Regions from separate parts of the Homo sapiens genome. Here region 1 is linked to region 2. Evidence: promoter capture Hi-C in 16 types of primary human blood cells and fetal thymus (Javierre and others, 2016). All regions are on one chromosome and are shown on one strand. Each heading gives the region's core, a stretch centred on a gene start or on the middle of the fragment in contact. The rest is flanking DNA. Distances are from core to core; before and after follow the strand shown.

Region 1 (5,891 bases), core at 153-2,652, 1.0 Mb before region 2:
CCAGTGGGCTGTGGTTACGTTCTCTCCTCCTTGAGCCTCAGACTGGAAACTCTCCATGCAGTAATCTGGGGCAATCGTGGGGCTCATCTTATTCATTTCTCATCTCTTATAAACCACTATCTTTCATTGCCTGATGTCCAGTGACTTAAATATTTTGTGTTGTTTTTAAAATTATTCCAGGCCTAAAAATAAATCCAGCTCCTGTTACTCCATGTTGACCAGAATGTATAATTGTTATTGCTGTTTTTTTTCTTTAAAAAACACCTTTATTGAGATGACTTATCCAATTAAACTGAGGCTCATTTGCAGGGATAGTTTTTGAGGTCAGTGTTTGAGGTTTGCTTTGACCCCAAGAGGTCTGTTTTTAGCCATGTCTTTTCCTGGTTCTCTCTGATAAACTAGCTGGCCTATGGTCTAGTTTATGTCACTAATGAACTTACCAGTTTCCTCTCAATTGCTTTTTGCCCAAGCTTCATTGTTTTGAAAGTCCCCTTAATGTTGAACTTTGTACTCATTTGCAAATAAAGTCAGTTCATTCGGGAAGGGCTTTAGAGCTCTCTATGTCCTGCCTTTCCTCTTGGGGAAATGTTTCAGGAGCTTTTGGCTATGGCTCTGGGGCTGGGTGGGGACAGTGGTAGGTAGCTACTTTCTGAGTGACACCCCTGCTTTAGGAGGTGGGTGCTTATTGGAGAGTCTATTGTATTCCCAGCTTGCTTCTCATAGCATGGAACCTCTACTTTACAAATGAGCTGGTTGATGGTGCCAGTATTCTCAGTGTGTTGCACCCAAGGCAGGGCTTTTGTCCCACAAGTAGGGGCTGAGCAAAAGAAGAGAGCCTCAACCGATTACTACAATCACCTGGAATTTAGTCTCTGCAACAGGTAGCTGGGGTGGGAAGAAAAATGCTGATGGATTTTCCTTCTTGGGAAAATACCATAGCCCTTGACTGGGAGCTGGGTGGAGACAGTGCTGTGTCCTTGGCTGTACCCACCTGGAGTGGAGTTTCTGTCACATTTTGCTGGCAGTGGGAGGAATGGAGCAGGTCGTGGTTGAAATGCCACAGACCCTCCCATTTCTTGCCAGGTTTTAATAGATGTTCTTGAATTAAATGTTTTTTTATTTGCTGTATGCCCTAAGGCCATTTCTAGAGACTTTAAATAAATACATATATCTTAAATATTTTATACACACACACAATTGCCCATTCTGGAAGTGGAAGTCCCCCGTCTCCACCCCCAGGAGGTTTTCAACACTCTAGATGTGGATGCCCAGCTGACCGCTCACTCTGCCTCCCACTGCAGGAAGACTCAAGGATAGATGCCCCAGTGAGTCAACCTCCTAGCTTCTTTTCAAATTCAAACAATCTTTTCTCTAGCCACACCTTGGTTCATAGGCTAAAACCCTTGTTACTTGGATTTGACCTTTTTGAGAATTTTTGGAGCGTGCACAGTCTTGTTGAACCCTAATGCAACCAAGTAGTTGTGTAGTTCTCTTCTAGGGTCAGATTCACTCTCATCAGATAATGTGTGGACCCGGGAAACAAATTATCTGTACATGCTGGCCGTCTCCCTGCATTTCCGCCACCTGGTGGGCAATTTTCACATGGACTGCCTTGAATCTGGATTATATTTGGTGGTCTCTGGCACCCTCCGGTGATGAGATATTTTAGCCCTGTGTTTTGTGGTAGTTTGACCGTATTTCATTTGTGATGAAGTGATTTTTGACCTGTATAACTGCTTTACAAGGAAACACACTTGGAGCTTGTTCACTGAGGGGCTGGAATAGTCAATCTGCATCCATGTCCACAGGCTGTTGGCTGGCATTTCTTCGGTGATGAGTCTGGTTTAGCCTCATTGTGAGAACATGCAAGGTGTGTGCATCCCTGGGTCTCTAGTTTAGTGTTCCTTCCAGGTCTTGGGCACCTATCCCAGCAGATCTTGGTGGCAATCATGAAGGATATCCTGGGGACATCACAACATAGTCCTCTCCCAGTTTTGCTGGCCAGCAGTGAAAAGACCGAGAGGCTGCTTTCGGGTCTTGTTTTTACAACTAGACCTTCGAAAGACATAAAGCATCTGTGTCCCTGCTTTGTAAGGTTCCAATCACCCCAGATCTTTTTCTTCATCCCCATGAGCAGTGGGGGGTCACGTTAACAATTTGGATCCAGTTATTCTCAGCAGCTAATGTCCTTCCAGCAGAGAGGGCGGACGCTGGGACTGTCCCATCATCGATGTTCCTCCAGCTCAGCCATCTTCTGGCTGCTGGACCAGATTGTCTGACTTTATTACCCAAGGGCTGAAAGGCTTATTGTCCCTGTGGCCACTTGGAAGCTTATGATCTTTGACTCCTGAGCTGTATTCTGTCATCCATTTAGCATAATATAGCGATCAGTCCAAGGACTCCAGTTCCTTATTTTACTTGTGAAGGATCATTTAGAAAAAAAATTCAACCTCCTTAGCAGTAGTTTGTCCTGGAATGTTGGTTTTATTAATAATTACTGTGGGTTACACCTCCCCTGCCTTCTCACCTTCTTTGAGGTTTCCCACATGAAAACCCCTGACACTGACTGAGGGATGGTCAGATTTTTAAAAATGTGACATTGGGGTTTTGAGGACCAGCATTCACGTCCATCCTGTATGAGGCCATCCTTGAAGTCAGAAGTTTTCCACTCTGAACCATCATTAGAGGAGTCATCGCTATGGTGACATGATGGTTTTCTCTCTTTCCATGAACTTGGAGATGGGGAATTATTTGAAAAGATAGAGAGCTGAGTGTCCAACCTCACTCTGGTCATATGACGTCTCTAGGGGAGCAAAGGCTAAAGGAAATTGGTTTCCTCCTTGCTGTGCAATGCACTAGCTTTTGGACACATGGCTGTCCTGTCACTTTTTACTGGAGCTAGGCCCGAGGCATTTGCAGGAGTGTAATTTATTTGGCCCCAAGCTGTGACACGTTCTGGGTCCACCGGAAATTCTTGATTTCTTTTATACTCTGCTGGGCGGGCTTCTCTAGGGTACTTATTCTAGGAATAAATCTCACGAATCTTTGTGGGCTTTGAAGTCCACATTGCTCCTTGGAGAGGAGAGAGCATCTGCATCCATTCTTTGCTCACCCACCACCCCCGAAGTGGCCATTCCAAAGAAAGCTGCCTGTGTTCTCACTGGCTGATATCTATCCCCATTTTAACCTGATTTAGATGGGGCTGACCAGCATTTATGGTTTGGTCACAACGCTTGCCTTCTGCAGTTCCCTGTGGCAGCTGACTGTTTGCATTCTGCAAGATGAATGCCTGAAGGCTTCATTTGACTTCATTTGATTGAAGGTCTATCATAGTAGCAGTTCGGAGATGACCTTCATTTCCATGCCATCTTTTGATGCTGAGATATTGTGTCAACCAGGGTAGACTCAGGAGGCAAACCACACCAGTAATTTGAACAGGGATTTTTTCAGAGTTGTTAAACTATAAAGAGTGGTGAGCTCATGAAAAGGATAAAGCAGGACTGTACAACGTTCATGAGTAGCAGATTCAGAAAGCAGCTACCGACTCACGCGGAGTGAGTGAAGGAACTAAGAGCTTGAGAATGGGACCCCAGGCAAGGCTGAGATTCAGACTTTTCCAGGAGAGCATGGTTTTGCTGTGAGCTGTAGCCTGCCAGAGGCCAAGACGCTTGCCAGAGAGTGTGAGCAGAAGCTGGTCCATGGAAGGGCCTATCATTGCCCAGGGGTATGTGGGTGGGCTGGTGCAGGTCTGGAGGATCAGCCCCAGGGTGGAAAGGTGATTGCCTGAGGATGCAGTAGGAGCTTGTCTGTAGAAGCAGCAGCCAGGGACTTTATATTTGCACAGATAATCTTTTCACACATTGCCCTTTTAGGGATATGGAAAGTAGAGTCCTGGGCTAAACAGATGCCTTCTTTAACAGTTCACTATGGAAGCTGGATGTGGTGGCTCATGCCTGTAATCCCAGCACTTTGGGAGGCCAAGGTGGGAGGATTCCTTGAGGCCAGGAGTTCGAGACCAGCTTAGGCAAATAATGAGATTCCCCATCTCTACAAAAAATACAAAAATTAGCTAAGTGTGGTGGTGTGTGCATGTAGTCCCGGCTACTCAGGAGGCTGAGGCAGGAGGATCACTTGAGCCCAGGAGTCTGAGATTGCAGGGAGCTATGGATGCACTGCTGCTCTCTAGCCTGGGTGATACAGGGAGACCCTGTCTCAAGAAAAGGAATACACTATGGAAAAGGAGGTGAACGTTCGGTGGTCAGCAGCCTGTTGCTGCCATAGGGGGTTTTAGTGGCCAAAGGCTAAGTGTAATGGCTTTGCTATTGCAGGGGCCACCCTCACTTCCCCGCCTATCCTACCATAGGCTGAGATATTTAGGCCACTGAGATTCTGCACACAAGTCTTACACACAGAATCAGAAGGAAATTGACCAAAGAAAGGCCCTGAGATGGTTGTCCAAATTCCAGGAGGAAGCGCTCATGGTGAACCAGTGCTCTGGTCACACTAGCTGAGTAACTCTTGTTCTAGGAGTGCTGTGGTGACTGCTTTGGGTTGAGGGACGCTTCTGATAATTCTCAACCAGGGGTAAGGCAAGGGGTCTGCAGGCAGGCAGTGGGAATGACTGCTGTACGAGGTCACTGCTTATTCCAACACCAGGAGCCATGCCACTCTACCCCAGCTGCCACAGGAAGGGAGACCTGCAGGCTGCCCATGTAGGAACTCCCCAGGCATTGAGTTTTTGCTGGAGTTGATGGGTCCCAGGGTTGGTTGAGGAAGAGGACAGGAACCTTTCGTGGGGGTGCTGGTGGGAGAAGAGGGGTGTTTCTTGTTTTCCCATACTCTAGGCCCTTCTCTACATGGTCTGGGATTTGCTTGACTTTGCCACCAGATGTCGCTGTCTACTTGTACAGAAGCACGGGGAGGCGACTACAGCCTGCCCAGAACTGAGAATTAAGAAACAGGGTTGCAAAAAGCCCAGTGGTGTCCCGCAACTGGCTTGCACCAGCTCAGGAGAGCTGATGATTTAAGAGCATCTCTTCCCAACTCTGTGTTCAGTGGGGCACCTTGGTAGCTTGAAATCAGCCATGGTGGGATTATTTATACCATGGAAATGGGCAAATGCTACAAATTAGGACTCCCACCGCCCTTGCTACTCTGTTAGTTGTTAAACTTTTCCCAGCACACCAGTGGGCACAGTGACCATTTAATGACAAGGATTGGGAAACTAAGGCTCAGGCAGTTTATTGAATTAGTCACATAACTGGAAAAGAACTCTGTGTGTGAAGCGCTGTGTTAGAGAAAACAAGAGTGAACAAGTCCTTTTCGTCTGCCCAGTCACAGGAGGGAGACTCAATATCTAACTGCAGTGGAGGACTGCCCTGGTGTCTGGCCCACGCATGCTGCCTGCCTGGGTTAGTTGAGAGCTGTAAAGGAGGGTTGTAGTAAGAGCTGCGTGGTGCAAATGGAAAAGTCTGCTGATATCAAGTGTGGTAAAGAGTTAGAGAAACAGAACCCACACATTGCTAGTAGGGTGTAAATTCATCAGCCACATTAGAGGGCAGTAAAACTGAAAATGTGCATTCCTCCTGATCCAGCAGTCCTGCCTCTGGGTATTATCTGGAAGATCTTATTTGCTAATTCCTGCATTACTTGTGGTAGCAAAAAGCTGGAAACAGCCTAAATGCTGTTTAGTCGATATATATATATATATATAAATGTATCACTATATATGTGGTGGTACATATCTATAAAGAGCCTAAATGTGTAATATATAGATGTGCCACACTATCTATTTATAGTGTGTAGAAAGTATATATAGTATATATGTATATATAGTATATATATGTAGCGATACATATACATATATACACACACATATATATATGGCCTAA
Region 2 (6,391 bases), core at 808-3,307:
TAGGTGATCTCAGGGGCAGTTTGAGAAACAGTGGCTCAGGGTCTCACAGCAGCCCTCTGAGATAGGTTGGTTGCTATTGTCCCGATTTTTTCTCATCAAGAAACTGAGGCTCAGGTGAGCTAAGGAATGTGCCCAGGGCCACTGTTTATAAGAAGTAGCCTCAAGCCTTGCTCATGGTTACTGCCCTGACAGGGATCTAGGAAAGAGTGAGCAGGAGAATGGGATGAGGCAGGACCCTCCGCCCCAGCCCTGCTTTCTCTGCCCAGACACCTCCTGCCTTGCAGACCCAACCCCACCCCAGATGGTTTCCTTTCCAGTCACCCAGCTGCTAGTTCTCCAGGTTCCTGGTCTCACTCCAGGTTCCTCCTGTTAGAGAAGCATCCCAGAGACATTCATTCCTGGCAAGGACACAGGCCTGCGGACCTGAAGGTCAGGTGGGCAGAGCCACATAAGATCTGGTGCCCCATCCTCCATTTAAAAAATTATACTTTCCAACGGCATTGGTATAAAGGTGAATATATTAATATCATATATTAAAACATTTTCTTTGACATAAAGGTTTCTTTCTTCTGCCTTTAAAATAAAATATTTTGGCCAGGTGTAATGGTTCACACCTATAATCCCAGCACTTGGGAAGGCTGAGGCAGGAGGATCACTTGAGCCCAAGAGTTCAAGACCAGCCTGGGCAACATAGAGACCCTGTCTCTACAAATTTTTTTTAATCAGCTGGGCGTGGTGGTGCTTGCCTGTGTTCCCAGACACTAGGAAGGCTGAGGCAGGAGGGGAGGGTCACTTGAGCCCAGGAGTTTGAGGCTGCAGTGAGCTGTGATCATGCCACTGCACTCCAGTGTGGGCACCAGAGAAGGAGCTTGTCTCTAAAAAGAGAGAAAAAGAATATTTTCAAGAGCCTCTGTGTTGGCAGAAAAATGGCCCTTCAGAGATGTTCATGTCCTATACCTGTGCCTGTGTTAGATTACATGGCAGACCCGGCATAGTGGCTCACGCCTGTACTGTAATCCCAGCACTTTGGGAGGCCGAGGCAGGCAGATCATTTGAGGTCAGGAGTTTGAGACCAGCCTGACCAACATGGTGAAACCCCATCTCTACTAAAAATACAAAAAAAATTAGCCGGGCATGGTGGTGCGTGCCTGCAGTCCCAGCTACTCGGGAGGCTGAGGCAGGAAAATCGCTTGAACCAGGGAGGCAGAGGTTGCAGTGAGTCGAGGTCATGCCACTGCAGTACAGCCTGGGTGACAGGGTGAGACTCCGTGTCAAAAAAAAATAATAATAATAATAAGGGGCAAAGGGGAATTAAGGTTGCTAATCAACTGATTTAGAGAGATGATGCTGGACTATCTGGGTGGGCCCAATGGCATCAGGAGGGTCTTTAGAAGTAGCAGAAGGAAGCAGAGGAGGGAACCAGAGGTGGCAGTGTGAGAAAGGCTCAACTGGCCATTGCTGGCTTCGAGGCTGTAGGAAGGGGCCACGAGCCAAGGTATGCAGGGAGCCCTTAGGAGCTGGAAAAGGCAGGGGAACAGTTTCTCCCCTAGAATCCTCAGAAAGGAACGCATTCTGGCGATCCCTGGATCTTCGCCCACTGAGGCTAAGTGGACTTCTGACCTCCAGAACGGAAAGATAACAAAAGCCTCAACGTTTGTGGAAACAAACAACTCATAATGAGCCTGGGACTGTGCCTCCTTCCCGGACGGATGAGCCTGCCTGGGCAGTCTGGGTTTGCATCCCTGCTCTGTCACTTACCAGCTATTGACGGCAGAAGTTGCTTAATTTCTGGGCGCTGTGACCTAGGGATTGCTTTCCCCATCCAGCCGCCCACCCAAAGCTGCAGAAGAGAAGCAAGAGGCTGGTGACTGGGGCGGCTCCGGAGCCCAGGTGGAGCCGCAGTTCGCCTACCACTAAAGGGCCGCAGTCACCGTCCACGTAGCCGCCAGGGGGCAGCAGAGGTCCGGCCCCGCCAGCCTGGAGGCCCGACTGCGCCTGCGCGGCGCCCGCGGCGCCCGCGGCGGCCAGGGACGGGAAGTGGGCGGGGCCGGCCGGCAGCAGCTTGCGGGACACGGAGCCGCGAGGAGACAGCTGAGGCCCGCGGAGACCAGGGGTGAGGAGGCCGGGGGGGACGGGATTAGAGGGCTGACGGGGCTGGGACGAGGGTCAGGCGAGCGCCCAAGGCGCACAGGGGTGAAATGGGACCGAGGAACCGGAGGGGTGGAATCAGAGGGCTGGGGAGGCAAGGAGGCCGAGACGAGGCTCACATGGGTGCACCGAAAGGGTGCGGGGGTGCAGTGCGGGGGGCCGAGGAGCAAGAGGGGCCGCTGCGGACATGAGGAACCCGAGGCTGGGAGTTGGGGGGCTGGGGAGCCAAGGGGGCAGAACTGGGGGGCAGGCGGGGGTGTGGCCGAGCCGAGGGCCTGGTAGGGACCGAGGGCTATGAGGCAGAATCGGGTGCTGAGGGGGACGCGCCCCATTTTCCGAGATTTGGCCTCTCCCCACCCCCCAGGAGCCTCTGGGCCGGCACGTTGCCCCATATCCCCCCAGTCCCTGCACCTTCAGGGGCCCAGTCTGCCTGATGGCCCCCGGCTCCGCGGCCTCCCAAGCGTCCGTGAAGCGAGCGTCAGCTGCACAAGTGCTCGGGCTGCAGCTGCTTCAGCCACAGGTCTGTGAGCCAGAGCCTCAGGCGCGGAGGCCGGGCACATTGCCGCTGGGTTCGGTCAGGCAAGCCCCTGAACCTGTCTGTACAACAGGAAGAACTGGCTCCGGCTGCAGGGATTTCGGCACAGCGCTTGACACACAGTGAGGCCCACTGCATGGTGGCGGGCTCCTTCGAAGCCTTCCACCCTGCGGGACAGAGTCACACATGTCGTGGTGGCATTCCCCGGGACAAGTTCTCTGGGCCCAGCTGAGCTCTCACCACGGGGGATAGAAAGTGGGGCCGGCCAGCACTCTGAGGCCATCTCCAGTCTCTTCTGTTGTCAAATTTCGCTCTTTTCCTCCTGCACGCGAGGTGGAAATACCAAAGGCATTGGGCATCCAGAGACCTTGATTGAGTTCGCTTTGCCCTTTCACCTGTGTGAGACCTTAAATGGGTGCTTGCCCTCCTATAACCTATTTCTTCATCTGCAGTGTAGCCTGACAGTATGTACTTCTCAGCGTAGTTGTGAGAGGTAAACAAAACGAATGCATTTCTGAAAGCCATGAACCTCTACACAAGTTCATTTGTGGAATTCCTTTAAGATACCCCCTGAAGGCCGGGCGCGGTGGCTCATACCTGTAATCCCAGCACTTTGGGAGGCCGAGGCAGGCATATCACCTGAGGTCAAGAGTTCCAGACCAGCATGGCAAAATCCCATCTCTACTAAAAATACAAAAATTAGCCGCGCGTGGTGGCAGGTGCCTGTAATCCTAGCTACTCAGGAGGCTGAGGCAGGAGAATTGCTTGAACCTGGGAGGCGAAGGTTGCAGTGAGCTGAGATCCCACCATTGCACTCCAGCCTGGGCAACAAGAGCGAAACTCCCTCTCAAAAAAAAAAAAAAAAAAAAAAAGGATACCATCTGACCTGAAGCCAACCGAGTCTTTTAAGACCTGGCGCTGCTGCCCACTGCACCCTTCAGAGTGGTGTAGCTTCCTCAGCCCATGCCACCCGCCAGTCACTCTTCCCTCTGCCATCACACTTACCACCTGCTGTACACAAAGGGCCATCGTGGGCTCCCTGACTACAGGGAGCTTACAGTCTATCAAGAAAGTCAGGCCTGTAGAAAGAAATGGTCATTGCACAGCAATGTGACTATGCTTAATGCCATGGAACTGTACGCTTAGAAATGGTTAAAAGGATACATAGTGTGTATATTTTACAACAATAAAAAAAATTTATATATGTAGAAAAAAAATCTAGGATTTACATCTAACTATTATTAGTATTAGTAGTTATGAATAAAGAAATAAGAATCTCTTTTGGTAGAAAAAGGTTGGCCAGGCGTGGTGTCTCATACCTGTAATCACAGCACTTTGGGAGGCTGAGGCGGGCAGATCACCTGAGGTCAGGAGTTCGAGACCAGCCTGGCCAACATGGTGAAACCCCATCTCTACTAAAAATACAAAAAAATTAGCCAGGCGTGGTTGTGGGTGCCTGTAATCCCAGCTACTAGGGAGGCTTAGGCAGGAGAATCACTTGAACCTGAGAGGCGGAGGTTGCCGTGAGCCAAGATTGCGCCACTGCACTCCGGCCTGGGTGACAGAGCAAGACTCTGTCTCAAAAAAAACAAAAACAAAAAAAAACAGTTAACATGAATGATGCTTTTGTTACACTATAGTGGTGCAGTTCCCTTTTCTAAGGATTGCTGGGTTTTTTTCATTACCTTGGTTCTGCAGTTAAGCAAGACTCAACAAGTATTTTTTCTATGTCCCCTAAAAAACTGCAGTTGTTAAACCCTGCATTCGTTAAGCTTAGGAGTCAAAACTAATGCACTAGAGGAAAATAAATATTTTAAATTAAAAAAAAAAAAACTTTTTACAAGTCAGATGTGAGCAAAAGTGCCATAGAGACATGAAAGAGAGCATGCTGGATCCAAAGATGGGGAGATTTCAGCAAAGCCTCAAAGGATCTGAGAGATCTCGGGAGGCAAAATGGAAGGAGGGCACCACAAAACAAGGAGGGGAGGGGCTGCCCTAGGGTGGGGGGTACACAGAAATGGAAGGAGGAGCCATGAGAGAGCCAAAGCCCAGAGCTGGTGGCCAATGAGGGACAGGTCAGGGATAGAAGGAGTCAGAATGACTTCCCAGGTGTCATCACAGTTAAGGCCCAGGTTCCCCAGCATGAACCCCACCCTGGGACTTTGGGCAAGTTCCTTAGCTCTTCTGCTACAGCCTGCCCTGTGAAGTGGGGATAACCACAAGAGGTTGTTGGGAGGCTAAAAGCCATCCCAGGAAGAGTGCTCAGAGCAGGGGCGGATGGCAGCTGGCAGCACCGTCAGCCACACCCCTGCAGCTGCCCCCCGATGAGTTTGCTTTGCCATTTCTCACCTATGTGGGACCTTAAATAGGTTCTAGGAGGGTGAGCACCCATTTGGTGTGCAGTGGGGCCCTGATCCAGGAGGAACCAGCTGCCAGTCGCATTTGGTCAGACTGGTCCAGGCAGGCGGTGCTGGGATGCAGGAGTCCAATGTCCCTCCCATGCCCACCCCGGGCTCTTGGTGATTTGCACAGGCTCATGCACACGTCCCTCTTATTCGGAGTTTTTCACTGGTGTGCCCTGCTCAGGAAAGCCCAGCACCAGGCTCCGCTGCCTCTGGTGCTCTCCCAGCTCTCCCTACTCCCTGCGGCTTGCCGCTGGCCTCCATGCCATTCCTGATGCTGTCTCTTCCAGTTGATCCCTCAAAGAACCACAGCACTGTCCCCTGCCCCTCCAGGCACTCCCAGGGCTGCCTCTGGTTTCCCTTGGTGAGGAATTTCTCCTTCCTGCCGGGTGTGCCATGGTGTACGTCAGATTCAGGAGCTTATTGGGAAAAGGAAGGAAATGATTCCTGTCCCTTTCGACATCTGGGCTCCAGGGAGAGAAAGCTGTGTCCTGGTTTCTCTCCTCACCCCTTGCCTTAGGTTGGTGATGCAGAAACAAGGGTGCTTGGTCCCCAGCAAGTAAGATGGCCCTGGGCACCCTGCCTTTGTAACAAGAGCAGGCAGTTGGCACAGGCCCTGAGAGTAAGCCAGCCTGTCCCCTCTACAGATGCAGACAGAGCTTCACACACACACATCATCACACCCCCCAGACCTTACTTAGTACACATGGCACAGACACCATTGAGGCATGTGCAGATAGTGGGCACAAGGCACAGAGAGAGCAGGCAGGTGGCCACAGTGAATCAGGGTCTGTAGTGCAGACAGGAGGAGCCACCCTCCCTGAGGGAACAGGCCGATTGTGGGGAGGGGCTCACGGCACAGGAAAGAGTACCCCAAGGTCAGGAGGCAAGAAGGAGGCACCTGCATCCCAAAAGGTCCAGCAGACGTCACCAGCAAATGGGGTGGAAGTGAAGGGTCTTGAATTCTGCCCTTGACAGTGGGGCTTTACACTGTGGGCAGGGGTTTCTCCAGGGGGGCCCTCTGTGTGCTCTAGCGGGGAGCATGCTGTCCTCTCACTTGGATCCTAATCATAAATTCACATGAGCACATTTTGTGGTGAGACAGTAGAGCCTCCAGATCACTTGGAATTGCAAGGGAGTGGGAGGAGGCCCCAGGCACTGGCAGTTGCTGGGGGCAGCTCTGCATCGTTCACATTCTCCCAGAAGCTCCAGGGGCCAGGGCAGTCCCAGGCAGAAGAGGGGCCCTTGGCCGCTTGCACTGCTTGAGGGCAGCCAAGCTTGCTGGGAAATTCACGCCATCTTCGAA

Evidence for each region. The method cuts DNA at HindIII sites, captures the fragments that hold promoters and counts their contacts. A CHiCAGO score of 5 or more calls a contact.
Region 1: a contact is called between a fragment that was not itself captured here and the fragment with the promoter of PPM1F in region 2, in 1 of 17 cell types (total B cells). The highest score is 6.6, in total B cells.

What each region holds. Positions count from the first base shown.
Region 1 is chr22:22,955,099-22,960,989 of GRCh38, reverse strand. No RefSeq gene overlaps it. Among named protein-coding and RNA genes, the nearest start is that of IGLL5, 70 kb to the right of the region's middle. The HindIII fragment of the contact is 1,860 bases long and covers 473-2,332 here.
Region 2 is chr22:21,948,514-21,954,904 of GRCh38, reverse strand. PPM1F (protein phosphatase, Mg2+/Mn2+ dependent 1F) reads left to right here and starts at 2,057. Exons shown (of 8, transcript NM_014634.4): 1 at 2,057-2,113. RefSeq lists a silencer at 1,865-2,274 and enhancers at 2,268-2,788, 2,835-2,904. The HindIII fragment of the contact is 22,373 bases long and covers 1-4,457 here.